Regions from separate parts of the Homo sapiens genome. Here regions 1, 2 and 3 are each linked to region 4. Evidence: promoter capture Hi-C in 16 types of primary human blood cells and fetal thymus (Javierre and others, 2016). All regions are on one chromosome and are shown on one strand. The core of a region is centred on a gene start or on the middle of the fragment in contact, and the rest is flanking DNA. Distances in the headings are between cores, read along the strand shown.

Region 1 (3,982 bases), core at 176-2,675, 600 kb after region 4:
ATATATATCTACAAATTTTTCAGTGTATGACTATGTGAAGTTAAAAAGTAAATGTCCACCATGTCCCTATCCCCAAAAATAACTAATGATGTCTCTGTTGTAGATCCTTCCAGACCTTGAATAAATATATGCAATTAAAAATTCATAGATAAATGTATAACTATTTTTAATCTACATGGGGTCATATTATACATACTGCTCTTTATTAGGCTTTTTACTTAGTAGTAAATATATCTTGAATAGTTTTCATTCCATAATATATGTATTTCATTTTCCCATAATGAACAATACTTCAGTGAGCATTATGTATCGCATATGTGCTGTGTTACTTCCTTTAGGAAAAGTACTAGAAGTGGGCATGCATGTACAAACAGTGAAATCAGGTCTGTAACATTATAAAAATATATGCTTTATAAATTTATAATCTCACTAAGGAAAGAAGATATATACATATACACAGAATAATACAAAATAAAGTATGATTAATTGAGGAAACAAAAGACACAAAGATACAATTAAAAGGAGCACCATGGTGGAGAAATGAAGACTTCCTTAGAGTTGATGGGACTTAAACTGTATATTACAGAATGAATAGGCCAAGTAGAGAAAATGGCTCTTTTGAGGTTAGGGAAATATTGAATCAAACAAATAATTGCAGGACATAATGCAGGCATGTATTAGCCCTATAATGAAGCTAGCATGACCAGAGCAGAGCTCCTGTGGGAAATAATGTAGGGACCAGATTACGGCTAAATTCTGCTATGTAAAGCTTGACTGAGGCCTTGTGGAGAATGGGGAGATAGGATTTCCATATAGGATTTCATTCAGAGAAATGACATTTTCTGCAAATGCTACCCTAAAGAATGCCATAGGCCAGGTGTGGTGGCTCACACCTGTAATTCTAGCACTTGGGAGGCTGAGGTGGGAGGATTACTTGAGCCCAGGAGTTCAAGACTAGCCTAGGCAACATAGTGACACCCCCTCTAAAAAAAAAAAAGAAAGGAATTCCATAGTATGTACAGATGTGCCATTACAGATGAGGATCTGGGGCCTAATTAATTGCCAGTCATCTTTAATAAACTATTGGGCCTATAGTTAGGATTTCTGAGGACAGTTCTTTGAAAATTAGGCCTAAGATGGCTTCATTGGACCAGGCAGAAGACCTCTTGTAAACAATTTCAAAACTTTTTTTTTCTTTCTTTCTTTCTTTATTTTGAGACAGAGTCTTGCTCTGTCACCCAGGCTGGAGTGCAGTGGCACAATCTCGGCTCACTGCAACCTCCACCTCCCGAGTTCAAGCAATTCTCTGCCTCAGCCTCCCGAGTAGCTGGGATTACAGGTGCCCAGCACCATGCCCAGCTAATTTTTTGTATTTTTTGTAGAGATGGGGTTTCACCATCTTGGCCATGCTGGTCTTGAACTCCTGACCTCATGATCCATCCACCTCAGCCTCCGAAAGTGCTGGGATTACAGGCGTGAGCCACTGCGCCTGGCCCTAAACTTTTTAAAAAGTTTTTTCTTGGCCAGGTGCAGTGGCTCATGCCTGTAATTCTAGTGCTTTGGGAGGCTGAGACGGGAGGATCAGTTTAGCCCAGGAGTTTGAGACCAGCCTAGGCAACATAGCAAGACCTCATCTCTACTAAAAATTTAAAAAAGATATCTGGGTATAGTGGCATGGTCCTGAAGTTCCAGCTGCTCAGGGGGCTGAGGCAGGAGGATCCCTTGAGCCCAGGAGGTCAAGGTTGTAGTGAGCTGTGTTTGTCCCACTGCACTCCAGCCTGGACAACAGAGCAAGACGCTGTCTCAAAAAAAAAAAAAAAGTTTTTTCTTACTGTGATTCAGGGACAGTTATCTTTAGAAATAAAAGGCTGTTAATTTTCTTATTTTAAGTGGCACTTTTTTATAAGAACTGATCGTGGTTTTTTTTTAAGAGTTTTATTATTTGAGTACAAATCTTACTAAAGCAGCCTTCTTACTAGTGTTTTTATGTAACAGAGCCTTCTCCTTTAATCATCTTTATACAGTGTCTGCATTGTCCTGGGAATTGTACTATATTTGTTGCAGTTCTTTGAATACTTTAGCAAAGCTTGCTTCGTTTTTGTTTCCAGTTGGCAAGTGGACAGCCTTGAACAAAAGCCCCAGCCCTCAGCAAAGCAGACATGATCCACATTATAATTTAATATGAGCTACGTGTAATAACCAGCATTCCATTTTGGACAAGGGTGGTGAAGAAGTAAGAGATTCAGTGACCTGACCTATTTTAAAAGTACTTTGCGTACCTGTAGATTTTGAGCATTCATAGCCTGAAGCAGTTTTATTGATATAAGATATTTAACTGTAATAAGATTTTACTTTTATTTTTTTCTTGGTAGAAAATCAGACAAGAGCAAAAGAATCTGATTTTTCAGATACTCTGAGTCCAAGCAAGGAAAAAAGCAGTGACGACACTACAGGTGAGTTTTAACCTAATGTTTACAGACCTGCAGCTGTTAATGGCAGTTTAGTTATATAGGTCAATGTGAGTGGAGATTTCAAAGTATGTGTTTGGGGAAAAAAAAAACGCTTCCATTTATCAAGTCATCCCCTTTGAATGCTGGATATTTTGTTAAAACTACTTTCAACTACCCGAATATAATAGCTGTATCAATTCCAATTGTTTGTTTTGATAACAATAGCTTGCTGATAGATCTGAATACTGTCTGTAATTATATATGTATTTTTTTCCTCTCTGTAGACGCCCAAATGGATGAGCAAGACCTAAATGAGCCTCTTGCCAAAGTGTCCCTTTTAAAAGGTACTTTAACATGTTTTTATGACATCGTAAACCAGGGTATCAAATCACCCTTTGCCATAAAATCTGTTCTAGATATTATGTGAAGTTTTAATTTTTAGTTAAGAGATTAAGATAGGTTCTGTAAAGTAGCAGGGACTAAAAATTTAAAGTTTTGGTGTTTATACCCAATATTTCAAACTATTGTTGAATAATTTGGATCAGTCAAGATTACGAGGGACAAAGTGTTAAGTGGTAGAATATGAAATGCAGCTGTGTTTTTTGTTTACCCTTGTGTCTCTAATAGGAATTTATTAGCGCTTTTAACATAATTAGAATAAGGTGAAAATCTTAACTTTCTTGAAAGACTCACCGGTTTACTCTGTTATCATATGGTAGCAGTTGTAAATTTCCTTATTTTCTGGTCTTCTTCATCTTCTAATAAATATCCCCAGGTTCTTATGACACTCTTCTAGAAATTTTGGGCTAAGAAACTTTAGGTGGATGGCCAGGCATGGTGGCTCACGCCTGTAATCTCAGCACTTTGGGAGGCTGAGGCAGGTGGATCATCTGAGGTCAGGAGTTTGAGACCAGCCTGACCAACATGGAGAAACCCTGTCTCTACTAAAAGTACAAGATTAGCCGGGTGTGGTGGCGCGTGCCTGTAATCTCAGCTACTCGGGAGGCTGAGGCAGGAGAATTGCTTGAATGCAGGAGGCAGAGGTTGTGGTAAGAGGTCATGCCATTGCACTCCAGCCTGGGCAATAAGAGCAAAACTCCATCTCAAAAAAAAAAATGAAAAAAAGAAAGAAATTTTAGATGTTGATAAGATAAGTAATGCATGTAATTAACTCTTTGTCTCACCTCTAAACAGGAAGTACATTTCTTGATATTTACTTGTTTAGAATGAAGTGGGTAGAAAATAAATCAGCATTTATAAAAATGTTTTTAAAATAAAGTTCCTTGGGGATAGTTTACTGGAAAATTGTCAACATTCAGTCTCTTTTATGTTGCCTTATTGTACACAAGAAAAATTGACATATGTTGTAAGTTCAGCCCAGTGGGTTTATTAAAAATGTTGGTAGTGGTGTACTAACACCAGACAGCTCTCTGGGATCAGAGTGACAGTAGCAGCCTGTGGAAATTTCTCTTTGTGGAAGTGCCGATTTTTCTGGCTGGACTAATAGGGAATCTCCTTGTCCAGACCCCGAG
Region 2 (4,348 bases), core at 1,548-4,047, 570 kb after region 4:
AGGTTGCAGCGAGCTGAGATCACGTCACTGCACTCCAGCCTGGGCGACAGAGCGATACTCCATCTCAAAGGAAAAACAAACAAACAAACAAACAAAAAACAGTTTGGGCCAGGCGCAGTGGCTCACGCCTGTAATCCCAGCACTTTGGGAGGCCGAGGCGGGCAGATCATGAGGTCAAGAGATTGAGACCATCCTGGCCAACATGGTGAAACCCCGTCTCTACTAAAAATACAAAAATTAGCTGGGCGTGGTGACACATGCCTGTAGTCCCAGCTCCTTGGGAGTCTAAGGCAGAAGAATCACTTGAACCCAGGAGGCAGAGGTTGCAGTGAGCCAAGATTGCACCACTGCACTCCAGCCTGGCGACAGAGCAAGACTTCGTCTCACAAAAAAAAAAAAAAAAAAAAAATTCAGTTTGAAAACCACTGGTATAGATAGATATTTTGAATTGATTTGCATAGTCTCCTTGAATGTGTTAAATTATGCTGAAAGTATGAAAGCAGGATGTAGGTGGTACTACATATTAAATAAGATTTCTATAAAAAAAGATTTTAGGTATTGCTGAATAGTTATTGATGTAAAAATTTGGTAACAGTTGAAATTTATAGTGAAAATAAGGTGTCTGTATTCCATTTAGCCCAACCTCCATTACTATAGATAATTGAAAGCCTGTAAATGCTGACATAGTTCCTCTGGATGAATATGTAGTCAGTGCTTCACAATAGACATTTCTAAAATATATAACAGGAAGTAGATGAGAATCAGCAAAACCCATGATATTCAGATGTTTTAAAACCTAAAACTGCTTATCATTAGGCCATCTAAAAGGCAGGGCCCAGCTATTTAGTGCTGTGCTGGAACAAGCCCAGAGAGAATCTGGGAATGATCTCCCTTTTAGCTTTCAGGGATGCTGTTAACTCTGCTTTAGCTGCCATTCCCTCTATCTATGAGACATCTAGGATAAGGACAGATCAGATCATAGGGTAATGATAGGGTAATGTCTAGTTGGTCCTTTAGAATCTTATAACTGAGGAAAAAAAAAATCTTATAACTGTTTGTGAAGGTCCATCTTGGTTTAATTCAAACTATGGATTGAGTGCCTAGAAGATATGTGTTTGTTAGAGAAGACCAGAGCATACCTCCGTTGGTTAACCTATGATAGTTTTCAAAGTTGGTCTTGTTAAAAGGAGATTGTCATTGTCCATTTTTGTTGCTATAAAGGAATAGCTGAGCCTGGGTAATTTATAAAGATAAGAGGTTTATTTGGCTCACAGTTCTGCAGGCTGAAGCTTCAGGCTGCTTCCACTGATGGCAGAAAGCAAAGTGGAGCTGGTACGTGTTCCATGGTGAGAGAGGGTCTGGGAGAGGTGCCAGGCTCTTTTTAAAAACCAGCTTTCATAGGACTAATAGAGTGAGAATTCACTCATTACCATGAGGACAGCACCAAGCCATTCATGAGGGATCTGCTCCCATAACCCAAACACCTCTCATTAGACCCCATCTCCAACACTGAGGATCAAATTTCAACATTGAGGCTTGGGGGACGAACATCCAAACTATAGGCAGAGAGGTCTTTTTGAATAGTGATTGTACTGTCATCTCGTTACTAAATAATTTTGTTTAAAATTTCAGAATGTTAACATGATAGAACTTCAAAATTGAAATGATAGTAATTTTAGGGAAAAATCTTACTTCCCTCTTTAAAAATACGATTTTTTTTTCCACATTGACCCTTTACCTCTGTGTGTACTGAGCCTACTTGCTTCCTCCAAGTTTCTCTCTCCTGGGTGTTATGGAGGAATAACCCAATGCAGATAATTTTTGACATCAAGCCTTTGTCTTTATCATCTTTACTGGTTTAGAAATGTCAGGTTAGCCGGGCGCAGTGGCTCATGCCTGTAATCCCAGCACTTTGGGAGGCCAAGGTGGGCTGATCATCTGAGGTCAGGCGTTCGAGACCAGCCTGACCAACATGGAGAAACCCCGTCTCTTCTAAAAATACAAAATTAGCTGGGTATGGTGGCGCATGCCTGTAATCCCAGCTACTTGGGAGGCTGAGGCAGGAGAATCACTCGAACCCGGGAGGCGGAGGTTGCCTAGGCAACAAGAGTGAAACTCCATCTCAAAAAAAAAAAGAAAGAAAGAAATGTCAGGTTTACAGATAATGTTCTGTAGAACATTTCTTTTCTACAGAACAAACTTTTCTTAGAAGTTTAAGTGAATAAAGGCATTCCTGGGGCTCGCTCTTAAAACAGAGTTAGGTTTGTTAAATAACTGAATTTTCTTATTTTTCTAGGTAGCAGAGGGAAAACAAGAGGAAATCCAACAGAAGGGACAGGCTGAGAAAAAAGAATTACAACATAAAATAGATGAAATGGAAGAAAAAGAACAGGAGCTCCAGGCAAAAATAGAAGCTTTGCAAGCTGATAATGATTTCACCAATGAAAGGCTAACAGCTTTACAAGGTAAGTAGCTAATCCAGAAATTGATTTTATTTTATTTTTTTTCTTGTTATCTGTGAAATATCTTTTTTTTTTTTGGACTTTTATTTACAGTACGGTTAGAACATCTTCAGGAGAAAACTCTTAAAGAATGCAGCAGCTTGGGTAGGTGGCATCCATATTTCTTACTTAAACCTGAATTTTATCCTTAAACTTTTGACCTTGTTTACTGTCTCACACTGCATTTTTTAAGGGATGTTTTATGTATTAGGTATAAAGTATCTATATTCTTTTAGAAAATTTTCTTTAAAAATATGCTTGATTGCCACCAGTGGGCACCATTGTTTTCCTTGAGATGAGTGAAATTTCTGCTCTGAGATCTTCTACCTCGGGATATTTAAATAAGAAAAGTACATGAACAGCAGGATCCCTTTTAAAGTGTTCTATACAATCTTAATCTTAGGAATGCAGAATGCCATGGTTACACTTGAGACCACATTTAAAGTAATACTTCTTTGATCAGGCAATGATATACTGTCTTAATCCTAGGGATACAAGTTGATGACTTCTTACCTAAAATAAATGGGAGCACAGAAAAAGGTAGTGTAAAAAACTTAAATATATATATACTTTTTATGATATCATTTTAGTATTTAAGCAGGATAAGGAGTTCAGGGTTTTAAGTGTTTGGAATGAAAAGCATGCTCTCACAGATCATTGAACCCCATCATTTAAAAATCAAGCTTTCCTTTATTTTGTAAGAGTTGATGCTGTGATCAATTCTTAGATATCCCTTGTTATATGGAAATTTCAATTACTCAAATCAGAAAATTATTAAGTTCACCTTTAGCAATATATAATATAGATCTTTTTCCCCACTCTGTTTTTCGAAGAGCTGTACTACCATTTTGTTTCATCAAGTTCTGCCTCCAGTGATACTTGACCCCCATTTAAAACATTCGAGTTTATTTAACAGCTTATTGAGCCCTTGGACATATCATAGAAACTACTTTGTTTATCCATCTGTTTCATTGATCAGAGAGAACAGGGTCAGTTTTTTCTGCCATCAGAAAAATCTTTTATTAGTTGTTGGTTCTGTGACCCTTCTTTCTGGACAGCGTGGGTTCTCTCTTGCCAAAAACATATAGCCACTATTGGTTTTCCTGTCACTACACGGGGTACTTTTTACCCAGTGACCTCTATTATCCTTCAGTCTTGAAGATCCCTAGTCATTCTCCTTCTCTCCCCTTCCATCTAACATTAATTGAGCACCAACTATGTGCCAGACCCTGCGCTAGGTGCTTGGAGTACAGTAGAAATTAAACTCTTTTCTGTGTTTACCAATCTATGTGCCTTTCATCTCAGTTTTCTACAGAAGTTAGTCGAAGATATCAGAGTTGATACCCAGAACTTATTAAATATTTTTTCCCTTAGCCAGGCATTGTGGTGTGCGCCTGTAGTCCCAACTACGTGGGAGGCTGAGGTGGGAGGGTCAGCTGAGCCCAGGAGGTTGAGGCAGCAGTGAGCCATAATTGTGCCACTGCACTCCAGCCTGGGTGACGAGCAAGGCCCTGTCTTTAAAAAAGAAAAGAAAAGAAAAGAAAAGACAAAATATTTTTTCCATGTATCAAGGGATATCATAATAGTTCTTGGGCAGCAATCAAACTGGTAGAGTTAGGAGGTGGGTTTTTTGGTTCTTTTTTGGTTTGGTTTTGTTTGGTCAGGTTTTAATCAAGAGCTGGCAGTATAGGCTCAGGTAATTGTGTGTATGTTAGCTGCAAGGTCAAAACCTTATTTGCATATGTAATGAATTTTGAAACTCTCAAGAAAAATGTTCATTAATCATTGCTGTTTGACTATTCTACGTATGTTTTGTAAAATGCATTGACTTTTTAAAATTCCAATTT
Region 3 (3,817 bases), core at 531-3,030, 550 kb after region 4:
GAAGCAATAAATTGAAGGAAAAGTAGAGCATTGAATAGGAAAGTGAGAAGGAAAGATTAAGCAGAGCGAGGCCCTCCCATTACTGTCCGTGCTTTCAGTAGAATCATTTATTTTATGCTTGTTAGAAGCCACATACTTTTCCTTGTTTGTTTACTTTTCAAGATATCTGAAGCAAAATAGCATAGGTTTTAAAACATTTTAATTCTTTTTTTCCTTTTTTTTTGTCCTTGGCATATGAAGTAATATCGTAAATTTAAAACATTAATGTGTTTTCTATTTGCGATTACAGCTTAATTATTAAAATTAAAATAAACTTTAGGAAGTTTAATATAACTTAGCTTTTAAGAGTTAAGAATTAAGGTTTTAGAAATGAGTAACTATTAATCAACTAATGATATATTGCTTCTTAAAGACCTTGATGTTTGTATTTGATAATGAGATTTTTCTTTCATGCAGTTTGAAAACTTTGAACAGTTACGTAAGGAATCATCTGTGTTCTCAGGTTCCATCTAGTAGAACTTGTAAATTTTTTCAAAGTCAGTTGGAATGTATTGTGTCTCTATCCTTTGTGTTTCTCTAATTCTTTTCATCTTTGCCCATTTTCTTCTCATTGTTTGTCTTTTCTTATATGGTTAAATATTAGTATCACTTAAATTTTTGCTGCCAATATAGTTATACATAATCTAACTTTCTGGAGAAGATGAATTTTGAACAAGCAATTCTCCAGAGCTGGAGGAAGATCAGAATGGCCTTTAGAGTTGGGTAGTCCAGTTTAAAGTCTGACTCCACTTGTTCTGTGACTTGATCAGGCAACATTTTTCTCATTTGAAATATGAAGATGATGATAGTACCTATTTAACAGGAATTTTATGAGAATTAAACAAGATTTAGTACTTAAAGAACTTGGCATAGTACTTGGCATATAATAAGCACACAATAAACTTTAGCTGTTTCTATTACTGTAAACTAATTTTTAAAAGCATTAAGATGCTTTTGGGTATGCCAGAAAGCCTAGAGTTTAAGTTCCATTGTGTACATAGCATTTATTGCTTTTAAGAACTTCAGAAGATAGTAAGTACTCAACAAGCTGACTTTTTTCCTTCCTTAATTTTTATTACACTGCACAAATAATTTTCCTTTTGTTTTGTTTTCTTTTTTCTTTCTTTCTTTTCCTTTTTTTTTTTTTTTTTTTTTTTTCTTTGACAGCCTGGTTCTGTTGCCTAGGCTGGAGTGTAGTAATCTCGGCTTGCTGCAACTCCACCTCCCGGGTTCAAGCAATTCTTGTGCCTCAGCCTCCTGAGCAGCTGGGACTACAGGTGCACACCACCACGCCCAGCTAATTTTTTGTACTTTTAGTAGAGATGGGTTTTACCATGTTGCCCAGGCTGCTCTTGAACTCCCGAGCACAGGCAGTCCACCCACCTTGGTCTCCCAAAGTGCTGGGATTATAGGCCTGAGCCACCACGCCTGGCCAATAATTTTTAAATGATAAGAAACAGAGAGGCCTGGTCAATAATTTTCTAATGATAAGAAACAAAGAGGCCCAGCCAATAATTGCCTTCCTTCCTTCCTTTTCTTTCTTTCTTTCTTTTTCTTTCTTTCTTTCTTTCTCTCCCTTTCTCTCTCTTTCTTTCTTTTCTTTCTTTTTTTTTTTTTTTTTTTTTTGAGACAGAATCTCACTTTTGTCAACCAGGCTGGAGTGCGGTGGGATGATTTCGGTTCACTGCAGCCTCCACCTCCCAGGTTTAAGTGATTCTCCTACCTCAACCTCCCAAGTAGCTGGGATTACAGGTGCATACCACCATGCCCAGCTAATTTTTGTGTTTTCAGTAGAGATGGGGTTTCACTATATTGGCCGGGCTACCTCAAACTCCTGACCTCAGGTGATCTGCTCCCCTCAGCCTCCCAAAGTGCTGGGATTACAGGCATGAGCCACTGCACCTGGGCCAACCATTTTCTAATGATTAGAAACAGAGAGGCCTGGCGCAGGTGGCTCGTGCCTGTAATCCCAGCACTTTGGCACTCTGAGGCGGACAGATTGCCTGAGCTCAGGAGTTTGAGACTAGCCTGGGCAACAGGGCAAAACCCCGTCTCTACTAAAAATACAAAAAATTAGCCGGGCGTGGTGGTGAGCGCCTGTAGTCCCAGCTACTCAGGAGACTGAGACACGAGAACAGCTTGAACCCCGGAGGCGGAAGTTGCAGTGAGCCAAAATCAGACCACTTCACTTCAGGCTGGGTGACAGAGTGAGACTCTGTCTCCACAAAAAAAAATTTTAAAAATTAAAAAAAAAAATTGCATATAATCCCACCACTCTAACACTAAGTAACTATTTTCATTTTCCACATTTCCTTCTTATGGTTTGTATATGCATATGAACTTAATTCATACTTCAGAATATACTTATATCCAGGGTAGTTTTTGTAAAATACAGATGTATATCACTTATGGAATGTGTTGCCGGATTTTTAGCCATTTGTTTATTAATGGGATTGTTATGAGAAGATTTTATACTTGGGTCACTAAGAAAGGTGAATTAAAAAAAAAATCCCTATTATACCATTTGTTTCTATTTAGACTTTTTTTTTTTTTTTTTTTTGGAGATGGAGTCTTGCTCAGTTGCCCAGGCTGTAGTGCGGTGGTGTGATCTCGGCTCACTGCAACCTCCGCCTCCCAGGTTCAAGTGATTCTCCTGCCTCAGCCTCCCAGGTAGCTGGGATTACAGGTGCCCTCCACTACACCCGGCTGGTTTTTGTATTTTTAGTAGAAACAGGTTTCACCATGTTGGCCAGGCTGTTCCCAAACTCCTAACCTCAAATCATCTGGCATTTAGACATTCTTAAGTTCATTTCACTATATGTGCATATCTGCAGAGAAAAGGATATATACCCACAATGGTTATCTCTGAGTGCTGGTATTGAGTAATTTTTATGTATTTCCTCATGATTTACTTCACACATTTTCCATAATCAATATTTGTTATATTCAAGAAAAATAAATTATTGTTTAAAATGCCTATTTCAATGTTCTGGAGTAAAGTTATACATAATTTTAAAAAAATCTTTACTAGGCACCAACTTTGTTAGGGCCTGCTGATGGGCTTTGGGCATATACAGGTGAATAGGTCATAGTTCCTGAGAACACAGATGTATAATCAAAGAAGGACAGTAAAGTTTATGTAGGCTCAATGAAGTCTGTATCATGGGTGCTCAGAAGGGAGGTGGGTGCTGGTAGTTAATATTCCATTTTATTCAGCATTTTAGTGTATTTGTGACTAGTTGAATTAGACCAGTTCTTACAGTGTTTGCAGTTATTAAGGTGGGATCAAAATTATTCCTATTTTTAACTCACATCTAATCAGTTTTTCAGCAGCTTACATATGATTTATCAGTTCAAGCTAAGAACTTTACTCAGTCAACCTTCAAGCTAACCATTATAAGAATGGCCTCTAGGATGTGGAGTGATTAGCAGCTGGTAGAGGTCATGCGTGGTAGCCTTGTTTTGAGTCCCCTGTACTCACCCCCAACATAAACAGTATCTTACAGGGATTTGTAAAATAGGGACTCCAGCTTCCTTAGCTGCTGTATTCTCATGAGAGTAATAGTAGTGATCAAGTCCATTTCCAAAGCACTGTTTTAAGCTTTTATTCATATGAATACATTTAATATCCCCAATAACTCCATGGAATTGGTTGTATGATTATCTCCCCCCCACCTTTTTTTTTTTGGAGATGGAGTCTTGCTCTATTGCCCAGACTGGAGTGCAGTGGCATCATCTCGGCTCACTGCAACCTCTGCCTCCCAGGTTCAAGTGATTC
Region 4 (3,800 bases), core at 598-3,097:
GCTAATTTCTTTACAAAACTTTAAATATTTAAAGATTATTTTAAAAACTAATCCTAAATTGAACACAAAAGTATAGGAATAGTGTGTGGCTAAGAGCACAGACTTTAGAATCAGACTGCCTTGCTCTTCACTTACTAGTTCTGTGACCTTGGGTAAGCCACTTAACTTTTCTGTGCCTCACTTTCCTCCTCTCTAAGTAGGGATAATAATAGGACCTACCTCATAGAGAGGTAATGAGAATTAGAATTTAAAAGTTAGTATTTATGAAGTGCTTAAAATAACATGACACATAGTGATCACTCCATGGTTTGTTACATTTTAAAAATACTATATAGGTTTGATGTACTTCATTGTCTCTATTTAGTTATGAAATCTCTTGGGGTTAAAAGACATTTTTCTAGTTTTACATCCAGCAGGCAAATAGAGATTACCATCCCAAGTAAACTGGGTTATCACCCCTGAAAAAATGATGGTTACTGCCTCAGGAGACCAAGGTTGCTGATTGGCCAGCGAGCGTGTGAGCAGGTGTGCCATATCCAGGACGATTCTTCTTACACCCCACACAGGGTCCCACTGGTCCTTTTTCAGTGTTGTCCAACAAAACTCTGAATCTACACTTTCAGAAGCCTTGTTCAAGTTTATGTAATTCCTCCTTTTGATTTGAGTAGATCAAAGACTGGACCCCATCCCCACCTACCCTACTAAGGTTGAAGATAACTAACTTTCTATGTGTCCCGGTTGGATTTATGCATTTCTTCAATTCCCAAAGACAAGATGTATTAGTTTTTCTCTAGCCCTTCATATCCTCCTTTCTTTCTTCTGATTTCCAGTCTGTATCACCTCACCCAGATTTGCTGCTAACCTCCTTCAGATATTTTTATTGCCTAATTAAATTCTGAATTATTTCCAGATTATTCCTGTCTAGTTAGGCATAATATCTTACAGATATTTAATTGACAGCTCCTTGGATTCTGACCCTCCTGTTTTTGTCACAACACTAGAGTTAAGCTAATGACAAGTGTCAGCTGTTGAATACAACACTTAATACTATATTGCCGATGAGAAAACCATTACCTCTCATCCTTAGGTGCATGTTGTGCTGTTCCTGGCTTATAAATATCCTGCAAACTCTGTTGAATGATGAGCTGGGTGTCAAAGTCTTCATCTATGTCTTCATCGCTGGTGTAATTATCCATGTGAAACGTGGACAGGTTTACTTTAAAGTCAGAGTGAATTAAAAGTATTTTTCCAGTTGTGAAGAGATCAACTGCTTAAAATTACAAATGAAATTCAGAAATCTAGAAAATTGGTAGGATTAACAATGAAAAATATACAAAATTTAGGAAACAAAATATTCACTAAAAAATTTCTATAAACTTAAAAAAGTTTTGTGGACTGCCACAGATTCAACAAAAATTAGAAGTTTCCATGAGTAGCCATTGACTTAAAGCTTATTCAGGAAAAACCACCTTTCAAATAAGACTTCGGTTAGTGCCACTCTAACACTGACAACACTCTGATCTGTTCAACTTGGCTGTGAGTCTTTCACAGTGATTGTAGCACTCATCCAAAATAATATCTTTCCTACACACAGTGTGATGCTGAAAATAATATTTTACTTAATATACATTAAAAATAAACATGTTATAGGAACAAATGTATTCTCATAATTACAACATGGATACAGCAGTAGTAAAAACAAATGTATCTTACTAGGCAATATCTAAATGGTTTTAAAAGAAAAATGTCAGTTTTAGCATAGAATACATTTGGTCACATTTCAAAGACTTTTTACCTTTTGTTTTATCCTCTAGGACAGCAGTGAAGTTTTCACTGTTAAGGACTAACACATGTAAGCCTCAGAATTTTCATTTATATTTAGGCTCTCCTCTCCCCTGTAGTGACCATTCCATTAATAGCTTTACTATAAATACTTCATCATAAGACAGTTTGGCACATTCTCCTTGTTTTTTACATGTGGTTTAGCTCTTTTTGGAAACATGATCTCTTTTCTTCAGTGCTACATTCATCAAATTTAAAGGATTAAATATTTTATTCCTGGAATAAAATGCTTTTGCAGGGGGTTGGCCATGCAAAGAGAATTCATGCACATAGCCACTGCAAACCACAATCAATTTTTCACTTAAGAGAACCCAAACATTTTGCTCTGACCCAATTATCCAAAGTGACTGTCCCAATGTACTAGATTCACTAGGTAGCTGTGACTACATTTTCCTTGGGTTACAGAACTGTGGCCTTCAGTGTCCTTGGAATCCTAAGGGAAGAATTCACTCTACACAAGATAAAATTTTGATCAAAATTCTGTTTTGTTGAAATATTTTTAAATTGTTAATATACACTAAAAAAAGCAAAGGGACCACTTGACATTTCAAATTAAATATGAAGCAAATGCCGAGAAGCACACTGTCACTGCAGGTGTAGAAGTTCGGACTGCCCTCAAGCCATCCTACTGCCTTTGCAGGCCAACTTCGCAGCTTTGAGTTTCCTTTCCTAGTCACAAGGATGCAGTGAGAAATGGAACCGATGTCTTAGAGGTAAGAAATAAAGAGGTATAGTTGGGTAACTTTTAATATTTTCCATATTTATAATTTCTTAATTTATGTATTTGAAATATTTATGTATAATTACTTTAGGTAGGAGAGTGGAAAGTAAACTATACTGAAGCTGAAGGAATGACTTAACATTTGTGAAGGAGATAATTCCTGATATTTGTTAAATGTTACCGTTTAACCCCCAAATCTATTTTTCACATACAATCAAACTTCAAAAAGTTCTCCTCAGAAAGGAGAACAATGCAATGAGTGTTTGCAAAGATCATTTAAAAGAATAACACCAAAACACTTGGTTTTATAATGTATATATTTTAAGTAGGACAGGTTTTTTTTTTTTTAAACTTTTGGATGTTTTATAAATTTGTCCAATTTAGTCATCCAACTGACAAAGCAAAGCAACCCCGCGCTTGATCCAGTGCCGAGTAGGTTGGTCTGTTTTTAACAACATTGCAATGACAAAGTTAGTAGAATGTCCCGTAGTGGAAAGAGTTCCTTTACGTTCACTTGTCTTGTAGAGGGGACAGACATAGGCATCCGACTTTATAATCCGAGATTTTTGAGCTTGAAAAAAAAAAAGAAATATATTCACTTGATAAAGGGAAAAACAGCCATTGGTACGAAAAGAACTATTTATCTTGTAATAAAATGGCCAGAACTAAATCTAAGATCATAATTGTGATATATGAAGGTTTTACAGCATATATATTTTTTTACAGTACATATAGTATTACGGTTGTGAAACAAGGCAAGTATTTCTTTTCTTTTCTTTTTTTTTTTTTTTTTGGAGACTGAGTCTCACTCTGTCACCTAGGCTGGAGTACAGTGGCACAATCTCGGCTCACTGCAACCTCTGCCTCCCAGGTTCAAGCGATTCTCTTGTCTCAGCCTCCTGAGTAGGTGGGACTACAGGTGCCTGCCACCATGCCTTGCTAATTTTTGTATTTTTAGTAGAGACGGGGTTTCACTATGTTGGCCAGGCTGGTCTTGAACCCCTGACCTCGTGATCTGCCCGCCTCAGCCTCCCAAAGTGCTGGGATTACAGGCGTGAGCCACTGCGCCCAGCCCAAGGCAAGTATTTCGTATGGTGCATGATTCTAGGTGTGGAAGACAGGAATAGACTTTAAAGTTCTGACCGCTTAGCAGGCATGAGAAAACTCAAGAGGATTTGGGAGGGGAGAATGAGAAGGGAGGGAAGAAGGAATAAAATACAGTATAGGTAGTGGGGGA

The links. The method cuts DNA at HindIII sites, captures the fragments that hold promoters and counts their contacts. A CHiCAGO score of 5 or more calls a contact.
Region 1: a fragment that was not itself captured here is called in contact with the fragment with the promoter of ASB14 in region 4 in 1 of 17 cell types (M2 macrophages); the score reaches 5.7 in M2 macrophages.
Region 2: a fragment that was not itself captured here is called in contact with the fragment with the promoter of ASB14 in region 4 in 4 of 17 cell types (total B cells, endothelial precursors, M2 macrophages and 1 more); the score reaches 7.0 in total B cells.
Region 3: a fragment that was not itself captured here is called in contact with the fragment with the promoter of ASB14 in region 4 in 1 of 17 cell types (naive B cells); the score reaches 5.3 in naive B cells.

Annotation. Positions count from the first base shown.
Region 1 is chr3:57,894,139-57,898,120 of GRCh38, forward strand. It overlaps SLMAP (sarcolemma associated protein), which reads left to right. Exons shown (of 25, transcript NM_001377540.1): 16 at 2,373-2,453; 17 at 2,735-2,794. Among named protein-coding and RNA genes, the nearest start is that of FLNB, 110 kb to the right of the region's middle. The HindIII fragment of the contact is 1,317 bases long and covers 768-2,084 here.
Region 2 is chr3:57,862,252-57,866,599 of GRCh38, forward strand. It overlaps SLMAP (sarcolemma associated protein), which reads left to right. Exons shown (of 25, transcript NM_001377540.1): 11 at 2,297-2,465; 12 at 2,556-2,606; 13 at 2,991-3,041. Among named protein-coding and RNA genes, the nearest start is that of SLMAP, 110 kb to the left of the region's middle. The HindIII fragment of the contact is 770 bases long and covers 2,413-3,182 here.
Region 3 is chr3:57,842,133-57,845,949 of GRCh38, forward strand. The region is part of intron 4 of SLMAP (sarcolemma associated protein); the gene reads left to right. Among named protein-coding and RNA genes, the nearest start is that of SLMAP, 88 kb to the left of the region's middle. The HindIII fragment of the contact is 3,716 bases long and covers 1-3,638 here.
Region 4 is chr3:57,290,838-57,294,637 of GRCh38, forward strand. ASB14 (ankyrin repeat and SOCS box containing 14) reads right to left here and starts at 1,848. Exons shown (of 11, transcript NM_001142733.3): 1 at 1,796-1,848; 2 at 1,075-1,267. The coding sequence starts at 1,196. It overlaps DNAH12 (dynein axonemal heavy chain 12), which reads right to left. Exons shown (of 74, transcript NM_001366028.2): 74 at 2,863-3,134. The coding sequence ends at 2,944. LOC124909384 (a long non-coding RNA gene) reads left to right here and starts at 1,954. Exons shown (of 2, transcript XR_007095923.1): 1 at 1,954-2,555. The HindIII fragment of the contact is 5,614 bases long and covers 1,449-3,800 here.